Linked DNA regions of Homo sapiens: regions 2, 3 and 4 are each linked to region 1. Evidence: promoter capture Hi-C in 16 types of primary human blood cells and fetal thymus (Javierre and others, 2016). All regions are on one chromosome and are shown on one strand. Each heading gives the region's core, a stretch centred on a gene start or on the middle of the fragment in contact. The rest is flanking DNA. Distances are from core to core; before and after follow the strand shown. Region 1 holds the start of REL (REL proto-oncogene, NF-kB subunit). Region 2 overlaps XPO1 (exportin 1). Region 3 overlaps USP34 (ubiquitin specific peptidase 34). Region 4 overlaps USP34 (ubiquitin specific peptidase 34).

Evidence for each region. The method cuts DNA at HindIII sites, captures the fragments that hold promoters and counts their contacts. A CHiCAGO score of 5 or more calls a contact.
Region 2: a contact is called between a fragment that was not itself captured here and the fragment with the promoter of REL in region 1, in 2 of 17 cell types (total B cells and total CD4 T cells). The highest score is 5.3, in total B cells.
Region 3: a contact is called between a fragment that was not itself captured here and the fragment with the promoter of REL in region 1, in 2 of 17 cell types (activated CD4 T cells and non-activated CD4 T cells). The highest score is 5.6, in activated CD4 T cells.
Region 4: a contact is called between a fragment that was not itself captured here and the fragment with the promoter of REL in region 1, in 1 of 17 cell types (total B cells). The highest score is 6.0, in total B cells.

Annotation. Positions count from the first base shown.
Region 1 is chr2:60,880,292-60,882,856 of GRCh38, reverse strand. It overlaps REL (REL proto-oncogene, NF-kB subunit), which reads right to left and starts at 1,283. Exons shown (of 10, transcript NM_001291746.2): 1 at 1,007-1,283. The coding sequence starts at 1,016. It overlaps REL-DT (REL divergent transcript), which reads left to right and starts at 1,543. Exons shown (of 3, transcript NR_033980.1): 1 at 1,543-1,625. RefSeq lists an enhancer at 871-1,540 and a silencer at 1,149-1,688. The HindIII fragment of the contact is 7,860 bases long and covers 1-2,565 here.
Region 2 is chr2:61,486,576-61,489,140 of GRCh38, reverse strand. It overlaps XPO1 (exportin 1), which reads left to right. Exons shown (of 25, transcript NM_003400.4): 18 at 370-553; 19 at 870-976. Among named protein-coding and RNA genes, the nearest start is that of USP34-DT, 17 kb to the right of the region's middle. The HindIII fragment of the contact is 1,111 bases long and covers 734-1,844 here.
Region 3 is chr2:61,461,492-61,464,056 of GRCh38, reverse strand. All of the region lies in intron 1 of USP34 (ubiquitin specific peptidase 34), which reads left to right. Among named protein-coding and RNA genes, the nearest start is that of USP34, 8.3 kb to the left of the region's middle. The HindIII fragment of the contact is 4,536 bases long and covers 1-2,565 here.
Region 4 is chr2:61,420,466-61,423,030 of GRCh38, reverse strand. It overlaps USP34 (ubiquitin specific peptidase 34), which reads left to right. Exons shown (of 80, transcript NM_014709.4): 2 at 2,198-2,285. Among named protein-coding and RNA genes, the nearest start is that of SNORA70B, 4.4 kb to the right of the region's middle. The HindIII fragment of the contact is 741 bases long and covers 902-1,642 here.

The DNA.
Region 1 (2,565 bases), core at 34-2,533:
GTCACATAAGTGATAAAGTTGTATTCATTCCTACTCATTATTTTAAAGCTCGGATATTCTAAAACTCCTCTTTCCCCTTATTTCCAGCGAGGAGGAAGGGGGATTCAACGTCTCTATTCGTCAGATTAGGAACCTTGAGCTTTATCTCACAGTAAAAACTACATTTTTTTTTTTTTTAAATAGAGACAGGGTCTCCCTCTGTCGCCCAGGCTGGAGTGCAGGGGCGCGATCTCGGCTCACTGCAACCTCCACCTCCCAGGTTCAAGCGATTCTCCTGCCTCAGCTTCCCGAGTAGCTGGGATTACAGGCGCGCGCCACCACGCCCCGCTGATTTTTGTATTTTTAGTAGAGACGGGGTTTCACCATGTTTGCCAGGCTGGTCTCAAACTCCTGACCTCTGGTTATCCACCCGCCTCGGCCTCCCAAAGTGCTGGGAATACAGGCATGAGCCACCGCGCCCGGCCTACACTTGGTCGAAGCAACATTAACACTTAAAATACCACGGATTTTCTAATTCGTGTTAAAATACCACGGATGATTTTTAAAGCCGTGACACATTTTGTACAACTGTCAGTACAAGGGGGATCACCTCTTTGCATTTGATGAAATTAAACTAAAAAGGGGGAGAGAGCTTGCCCGAGGTCTGAAGGTTCCTCATTCCTGTTCTAAAACATAAAACCACCATCTTCAATACATATACATTTTTAATGAGAACTCTTCGTCCTCCTTTGGTTCGCTTATGACTTCCCTAATCCTAAAATCAAGTCGTTGGGAATTTCTAAGGTTCCTGCTATGACAACAGGATCGAATTACAGAGCGTGGCTTGGATTCTGCACGCAAACCCTGAAGCAGGTAACTTTTTTAAAAGCTGACAATTTTACCATATGAGATTTTAAAGACAGAACGCGCCCCAGCAAAAACTGAGCTCCCTAAACTCACTGCGGCAGGACCCCCTTCAGAAGAGCTCCTTTCCCCCGGCCCAGGCCCGCGCCCCATGAACACTCACCGGAGGCCATGGCTCCGCTCCCCGCACCTTCCCGCAGGCAGCTCCCAGCGTCCTGGCCGGAGGCGGCCGCAGTCAGTCAGTCAGGAGGCCGAGGGACCTCTGCCGGCGGGGCCCCCAGTCCCCCGACCACCCTAGAGGCCTCCTCCTTCTTCCCGCCCTCCGCTGGGTTTGCGGCTCACACCTTCCCAACCCCTGAATTCTTGCACCCCGGGTCACCCAGCGTCGCCGTCCACCGTACGGGAGCCAGGGGCAGGGGGCGGAGCGGGGAGAGCCGAGTGCTGGCCCAGCCGAGAGGCGAGCAGCCTGGCGGGAGGGGAATTTCCCGCGGCTGACGTAGGCCCGACGCAGCAACCCTCACCCGGAGGCGTGGGCGGGGCGACCTCGCGGCCGCCGCGCGCGCGACCGCCCCCAGCGCCCCGCCCCTGCCTGTCCCCGCGCACGCTCCCCGCCGGCCCCCACGCATACGCCCCCGGCGCTGCTGCGGCGGCTGGCTTGGGAGGGGGTCGAGGGAGCGGGAGCTTGGGGTGGGCTTCGGGAGCGCAGGGAACGGCGGGAGCCGGGAGGTGACGGCTAGCAGCGTGAGAAGGCCGCTGGCTCCTGAGAAATCCCCCTCCTCCAGGTTGTTCTTCCGAGTGTGGTTTAAAGTTCAGGAGCGGGCGGGAGGGTGCGGATGACGTAGAGAGGGCCGGCCGCTGGGGAGCTTTTGGGGGCGCGCGGGGCCGACTCTCCCGGCCTGGGAGGGCGACGGCCGGGGTTTTCGAGAGGTGGTTCCCCCTCTTCCCGACTTCGCACATGCAAATCTCCACCCCCGCGCCAGCGGCGGGACGTTGCGCCCTGTAGGGGGAAGTGGTGCTGCGGCGGGGGTCCTGTCTTCTTCTGTAATTCCTGTATTTGCATACGGGGACCCCCCCCCCGACTGATTTTTTTTCCTCCATCTAAATTGCGAGGGTACTGTGAACTTTACGTATTTTACCTACTGAAACCCGTTTAAACTCAAAAGGTCCGCACTTGGAGTTCGTTGTCTCATTAGGCAGTGCACTGAAGTTTAGTGGACACTATATCCTGAGATTTCACACAGATGCCAAGAAAGGCGGAAATGGAGCACACATTTAGTGCATTAAAGGACCTAGGATAACTTCGTTTCCTTCATTTGAATAGTACCTGCTATGCATCAGATAATGTCCATACTTAATCTATGACGTATTTATTATTCCTAACTTTATAGATGAAGTATTCGGGGTTCAGAGAAGTTACTTCAACATACAGTACTTCAGAATGCTGATAAAAGGCACAGTTTAAAGCCAGGGTTGTCTGACTCCAAAGCTCCATGCCCTTGCCCCTGTCCCTTACTAGTTAAAATTAGTACGGAGAGGTAATGGGGAATATCAGCCTGCCATACAAGTGCCCAAAACTGGGGGACCCATATGGGCAAATAATTTAAAATATCCTGCCAACCCCAAACTGTTCTTTCCACGAAATGCGCAATGTACAACAAAAGAATGAAACAGTTTTATTATTGGATATGTACTAAAACGTACCATGATGCACATCACAGGCAA
Region 2 (2,565 bases), core at 40-2,539, 610 kb before region 1:
CGCCTGGCCATTATGATGGATAATTCTTTTTTTTTTTTTGAGACGGAGTCTTGCTCTTTCGCCCAGGCTGGAGTGCAGTGGTGCGATCTCGGCTCACTGCAAACTCCATCTCTAGCGTTCACGCCGTTCTCCTGCCTCAACCTCCCGAGTAGGTGGGACTACAGGCGGCTGCCACCACGCCTGGCTATTTTTTTTGTATTTTTAGTAGAGACGGGGTTTCACCGTGTTATCCAGGATGGTCCCGATCTCCTGAACTCATCATCCGCCCGCCTCGGCCTCTCAGAGTGCTGGGATTACAGGCGTGAGCCACTGTTCCCAGCCGTGGATAATTCTTATATGATAAATGGAATTTGCTTTTTTTCCTCCAAGAATGTGGATATACTGAAAGATCCTGAAACAGTCAAGCAGCTTGGTAGCATTTTGAAAACAAATGTGAGAGCCTGCAAAGCTGTTGGACACCCCTTTGTAATTCAGCTTGGAAGAATTTATTTAGATATGCTTAATGTATACAAGTGCCTCAGTGAAAATATTTCTGCAGCTATCCAAGCTAATGGTAGGTGATTCTGATTTCTTACACAATGCAGTATAAACAAACCACTTCTCTTCTACTGCCTTAAGTCAAACATTTGATGTTTTTTACAGATTTAAATCAGACCTCCCATTTCCCAAATGACCCTAGACATATTTAAAACAGTTAAGTGTACCTTTCCCTTTTAAAATTAGTCTTAAAGCTTATTTTCCCAATAAATTTTGTGAACTTTTGGCTTTAAACTTTTTAATGGTAAAATGGAATTGCATCTAATGTACACCTGAGTACCACTGTATAAGTTTAGTGGTAAAATTAGATTCCATTTGATTCTGTTTTGTAGGTGAAATGGTTACAAAGCAACCATTGATTAGAAGTATGCGAACTGTAAAAAGGGAAACTTTAAAGTTAATATCTGGTTGGGTGAGCCGATCCAATGATCCACAGATGGTAAGTGAGAGATGCTTTGCTTTTGATTTCTAGTGTTGATGCTGTGTTTTATGGAATATGCTATACTCTATTATGTGCATTTTGCTAATTTAAAGCATATCAACTTTGTGGTTATTTTATGGCATTTTATTTATTGTAGTCCTTACGTTAATATACTAATAGCTGTATTCCATCTTCAAAAGAAACTGCTGTTAATCAGTAGCGAAGGGTGGTGATATGTAACAAGATAGCTAAGAAAATTGGGTCATTTTATGTTTCCATAGATAGGTTAGGAGGATTTAATTAATGGAGTACCGGTGCAGTTTTTGCATTCCTCTTGATTTTTAGAACAATTGCTAGAGCTACAAAGTTGTCATTACTTTACCTCTTTAGCAAAGTGATTGCTTCCCAGATTAAAGGCCTGAAAGTCTTTTTTACACCCTTTTTCCTAAATGATTTGCAGAAAAGGAAATCATTTTCAGTAATAAAAACCAGCTGCGTATGCCTCAACTTGTAAAATTGTGAATTAGTTTTAGGTTTTAACTGTATCGTTTCATTCTTGTTATTCAATTGAGCCTTGGGAGAGTCCAAAAAATTCTAATACTACTATTACTTGGAATAGTGTTGGTTTTTTGTTTTTTGGTTTTTTTTTTTACAAGTGTGCTAGTTATTTTCATAGTTTTGAAATTTCAGTATTGTTTCTTGTTAAGGAAATACTTTTCAGTAAACTTGTTCTGAATATAATTCTTGTGGAATACTTAAGTTGGCTAACCTAAATATCGAAAGGTTCTGAACATGCGTATTATGTGAACAGAACTGTATTTAAAATTTGAAAGCAGAAAGTAAGATGTATTGAAGGAATTGTGATGTTTGTAATTTACAAGAAGCTTGAGCACGTGTCGGGAGCACAGTGGGAATAATACAAAGGGTATCATCTTTTGTAACATTAATGTTAAAGTTTGGGATATTTGTTCACATGAAACATTGTGTTTATTTTCCTTGTCTTGGCTTTTCACGGTGGCTCATGCCTGTAATCCCAGCACTTTGGGAGGCCGAGGCGGGTGGATCACTTGAAGTCAGGAGGCTGAGGCAGGAGAATCACTTGAACCCCAGAGGTGGAGGTGACAGTGAGCCAAGATTGCGCCATTGCACCCCAGTCTGGGCCACAAGTGGGAAACTTCGTCTCAAAAAAAAAAAAAGAACAAGAAGTTACTCTTTAAGTATAACTCAGTTTACTTAGAATCATGAAAATCTTACTGGGCATTGTAGCATGCACCTGTAATCCCAACCACCAGGGAGGGTAAGGCAGGCGAATCACCCCAGCTCAAGTCCAGTTTAGGCAACATGGCAAGATTCAGTTTCAAAAAAATAATAGAAATCCATAGTCTTTCTTATTTTCTGAGAGTAATTGATTGATGTTATTTCTGCTTGTGAAAATACTCACCAGTTAGCATTCATTAGATTAAAACATTAGTCTGAGTTGGGTGGATCACGAGGTCAGGAAATCAAGACCATCCTGGCTAACACGGTGAAACACCCCGTCTCTACTAAAAATATAAAAAATTAGCTGGGCGTGGTGGCAGGTGCCTGTACTCCCAGCTACTCGATAG
Region 3 (2,565 bases), core at 38-2,537, 580 kb before region 1:
CAGATTACTTTATTGAATAGTTTGTGTTGGGTACTTAAGTACTTTACATGCTTTGCATGCTGCTGATTTAATCAGTTCTTTGAGGGAGGTACTCTGTCATCCTTTTCAGATGAGGGAACTAAGGTTTAGAGAATTTATGTGACTTGCTTAGGGTCACATGTGACTGTTTGGTGGAACCACAGGACTTAATCCCAGATTAGGCTAAGAGTTTTTTTTTTTTTTGAAAAGGAATTTTGTTCCTGTTGCCCAGGCTGGTGTGCAATGGCATGATCTCGGCTCATTGCAACCTCCGCCTCCTGGGTTCAAGCGATTCTCCTGCCTCAGCCTCCTGAGTAGCTGGGATTACAGGCATGCACCACCATGCCTGGCTAATTTTTGTAATTTTAGTCGATGTGGGGTTTCACCATGTTGGCCAGGATGGTCTTGAATTCCTGACCCCAGGTAATCCGCCTCCCTTGGCCTCCCAAAGTGTTGGGTTTAGGGGTGTGAGCCATCCTGCCTGGCCTAAAAGTTCTTACTAGTTAACATTGTATAAATTTTATGATGATCTATCTGAATCACCACTGTTCAGTTGGCAAAGTGAAAATTACTGACCGTGTTTTATGTATCTTCAAAAATTCAGACAAATTTCTGTGATAATTGTAGTAGGAATTCAAAAGTGGTAATAAGTATAGCTGAATAAGAATCTTTTTCATTGAATAAAATTTCAAATTTTTTGATTTTTGATTATTTTTTAAGAGACAGTGTATCACCCATGCTGGGGTGCAGTGGCCCAATTATAGCTCACTGCAGCCTCAAGCTCCTGGGCTCAAGTGATGCTCCTGCCTCAGCCTCCCAAAGTGTTGGGGTATGCTGTACCCGGCTGAGAATCTTTCTTAATACTGTTATTCTGCAGTGAACCGTTTAATAAAACTACATGTTTCCAGAGCTTTTTAGATACTATGAGTATATAGGTACGAAATCAATTAGTAACATAACTTTTTCAGTAGACATTTAATCTAAAGTTGGAATTTTTTTCCCCCCTTTGGAGATGGAGTCTTATTCTGTCATCCAGGCTGGAGTGCAATGAAGTGATTATTGCTTACTATAACTTGACCTCCTGGGCTCAAGTGATTTTCCTGTCTCACCCTCCTGAGTAGCAGGGACTATAGGTGTGTATACCAGCACACCTGGCTGCCTTTTTTTTTTTTTTTTTGGGAAACAGTTTCCCTCTGTCTCCCAGGCTGGAGTGCATTGGTACAGTCTCGGCTCACTGCACCCTCTGCCTTGGGGGGCTCAAGCAGTTCTTGTGCCTCACCCTCCCAAGTAGCTGGGATTATAGGCATGTGCCATCATGCCGGGCTAATTTTTGTATATTTAGTAGAGATGGGGTTTCGCCATGTTGGTCAGGCTGGTCTCAAACTCCTGGCCTCAAGTGATCCGCTTGCCTCAGCCTCCCAGAGTGCTGGGATTACAGGGTGTGAGCTACTTTGTCCGGTTCTCCTGAATTGATTTTTTTTTTTTTTTTGGAGACGGAGTCTTACTCTGTGGCCCAGGCTGGAGTGCAGTGGCATGATCTTGGCTCACTTCAACCTCCTCTTCCTGGGTTCAAGCAATTCTCCTGCCTCAGCTTCCCAAGTAGCTGGGATTACAGGTGCGTACCACCATGCCCAGCTAATATTTGTGTTTTTTGTAGGAATGGGGCTTCACTGTTTTGCCCAGGCTGTTCTCAAACTCCTAGCCTCAAGTGATTCACCCACCTCGGCCTCCCAAACTGCTGGGATTACAGGCATGAGCCACCACGCCTGGCTGATTTTCTTTTTTTTTTTTTTCCCCCTGAGATGGAGTCTTGTTCTGTTGCCCCAGGCTGGAGTGCGATGGCCTGATCTTGGCTCACTGCAACCTCCGCCTCCCGGGTTCAAGCGATTTTCCTGCCTCAACCTCCTGGGTAGCTGTGATTACAGGCAACTGCCACCATGCCTGACTAATTTTTGTTACGTTTAGTAGAGATGAGGTTTCACCATGTTGGCCAGGCTGGTCTTGAACTCCTGACCTCATGATCTGCCCACCTCGGCCCCCTAAAATGCTGTGACTACAGGTGTGAGCCACCGCGTCTGGCTGAAAACATGTTTTTGTATAAGATTTCATTTTATATAAAATTTAATATATCTGTTTCCAGTTCTCCCATATTATGAATAATGCCGCAAATGTACATCTTTCTACTTAAATCTTTTATCTACATCCCTGGTTCTTTTAGATTTCTAGACGTGAGTTTACTGTGTCAAAAAATATAAACATTTTTCATTATTTTCATACTGTTTGCTTGCCAGAAAGGATATATTGATCTTTTAGTCGTAGTCGTGCCTGTGTAAGGGCACTTTCACCTGTCTTGAATATTATCCTTTAGAAAGTGTTATTTTAGCAGGGCATGGTGATGTGTGCCTGTAGTATTCCCAGCTACTCAGGAGGCTGAGGTGGGAGGATCACTTGAGCCCTGGAATTCAAGGCTAGCCTGGGCAACATAGCAAGACTTCATCTCTTAAAATAAAAGTTATTTTGGTAGAGAATGTATTAAGCAATTACTAG
Region 4 (2,565 bases), core at 23-2,522, 540 kb before region 1:
TTGAGAGGGGGTCTCACTCTGTTACCCAGGTTGGAATGCTGAAATGCAAACTGCAGTTTAATGGAAGCCACTGATTTTTTTCGGCTCACTTCAGCCTTAACCTTCCAGGTTCGAGTGATCCTTCCACCTCAGCCTCCTCAGTAGCTGGGACCAGAGGTGTGCACCACCATGCCTGGCTAATTGTTTATATTTTTCGTAGAGATGGGGTTTCACTATGCTGCTCAGGCTGGTCTTGACCTCCTAAGCTCAAGTGATCTGCCCGCCTTGGCCTTCCAAAGTGCTGGGATTACCGGCTGTTAGTTCTAACAGTTCTTCTTGTGTAATCCTTAGGGTTTTCTGTTGGTTCATGTTATCTGTGGACAGAAGTGACTTGATTTCTTTCCATTTTCTTCCTCATTGAATTGCTCTGACTAGAATTTCTAATACTGTGTTGAATAGAAATTGTGAAAGTGACCACCTTATCTTGGTCCTAATCTTAGAGGAAAAGCTTTTGGGCTTTCACCTTTGAGTATGATGATAGCTGTGTGTTTGGAGAACTCTACTCTGATGAAATGTCCTTCACTTGCCTTTCTGGTTCTGGGTTGGATGGAATGAGTTGGAAAGTTTTTGTTGGTTAGCAGCTAGGCTGTCAGGCGGGCCTCTGGTGAGGATGGTTTTCTGGCCACACAAACTTTTTTTCAGAATGTGTGCCGTGTGTGTTTTTTGTTAGAGTAGGATATGATGGTTGTAGCCACTCTTCCCTCTGTTTTTAGGCACTGTTATGGCTGGGGAAGGAAAACTGGCATGGCGTACTGTGATCCCTTCTTCACCTTGTTGAAATCATACAATGCAAGAGGTTGTTTTTAGTGGTTGCTTCATCTTAGGCCCCAACTATATCTTATTCTGTCCTAGTTGCTAAGCTTTGTTGCCCAGGTCTTCTCCCTGATGGTCAGTAGTGTCTTCGGCTTCCAGGGCCTCAGATGTGATCTAGGTCCCAAAAGCCTGGTCTTGGGTGTAGGTGTTACTACCTTGTGACTGTTTTACATGTATTTTGGCCTTACGCCGTTTCCTTTTCTCCTTGACCAAGGTAATTTTTTTTTAAACCCCTTTTTGGTTAATCAGTATTACCAGAGAGGAATCTTCCAACCTCCTAGTTCAGCTTACCAGCATTTCTGGAGCTGAGTTGAGGAAGTGTGCTGTAAGTCTCAACATTGTGTATGTAGTCTGATTAAGTAGAAGGTGCGCGCGCGCGCGTGTGTGTGTGTGTGTGTGTGTGTTTTAAATGTAAACTAACCTCATATATATTTGGTACAGGAAACTTACTGGTATAGTAGGACATATTACTGCTTCATAGGGGATTTCCCCTCCTCACGTTAATGTGATACAGTGATCCAGGCAAGATTTCTTGGGATTAAAGAGAAGACACTAGCAATATATAAAGAAACAGTAAGAAAGCTGATAAGCCTCAAAAATGCTTTCTTGTACATACATAATAATTGGTTTAGTGGCTTCAAAGACCCTTATGTTTTCTACTTTGTAAAGCTGTGTGGACCAGCCAAAGAAGGTAAAAGCCATTAAAATGATGGAATTATAAGAATGGTTATGTTCAATTTTTATTATTTTGGGAAATGGTCTTTTAATGAGAACTGAATGTTCTCAAGCTTCCTCATATCAAAAGAGGAACGCCGTGTGAAGGAAGCTGTGACTTCAAGGAAGGTATGCTCTGTGGCTACTGCTGATACCTCTGAGAGGAGTACCATGAGACTGGTTCTTGGAATACTAAGCTGGAGGCTGGAATCAGTGCTGCTGCTTTCAGATATAGCAAGCTGACAAGTCTTTGGTCTCTCCTCCTGCCTTCTTCTTCTAGTACCCTATAGGCACTGGAGAACAAGATCTTAACAGGAAGACAGCTGGAAATGAAAAATGTAGATTGCATGGTCCCAGCCTCAGCATCACAACGGAAGGCTGGTTTTGGAGATGAGAGATAATCCCAGAATAAGTGGCAAAGTCTCACTGCCCCCCCCACCCCTTACATCTGTCAAAAATCTGTTCTTAAGTCCATATGAGTTATTAATTAAAAGTAGACTTATTTTCTTTGGAAGCAAAAGAATGATTATCTGAAATGTTTGCATTTGTAGCTCTTGGCTTTATTTTGAACTGTTGGCTTTAATACTGGTTTAGCATTATTCATAATTTTAAAATTTCTTTTTTATTTCAGTATCAGATGTAGAAGGTGGTGATGGACTGCAGCTCAGAAAGGAACATACTCTCAAAATATTTACTTATATCAATTCCTGGACACAGAGGTATGCATCTTTAGGTATTTCGAAGACTAATTTTTGTGAGTTGTGTTATAAGTTGCGATTTTTATTGTCACATTTTCTTTTTAGGGTGTTGGGTTAGATACCATTAGTTACTAAATGACAGTTTGTCAATATTTATTAAATCTTTACTCATGAGGTCGATCATGATTCTGTTTTTAAAACATGGGCATAAATATCAGTTTCTTTCTTTGACCCCTGCTTATTTAGGGATATGAGAGTCACAGAAATTCTGAAAAGTAACTATTTTGAGAGATTAAATAAT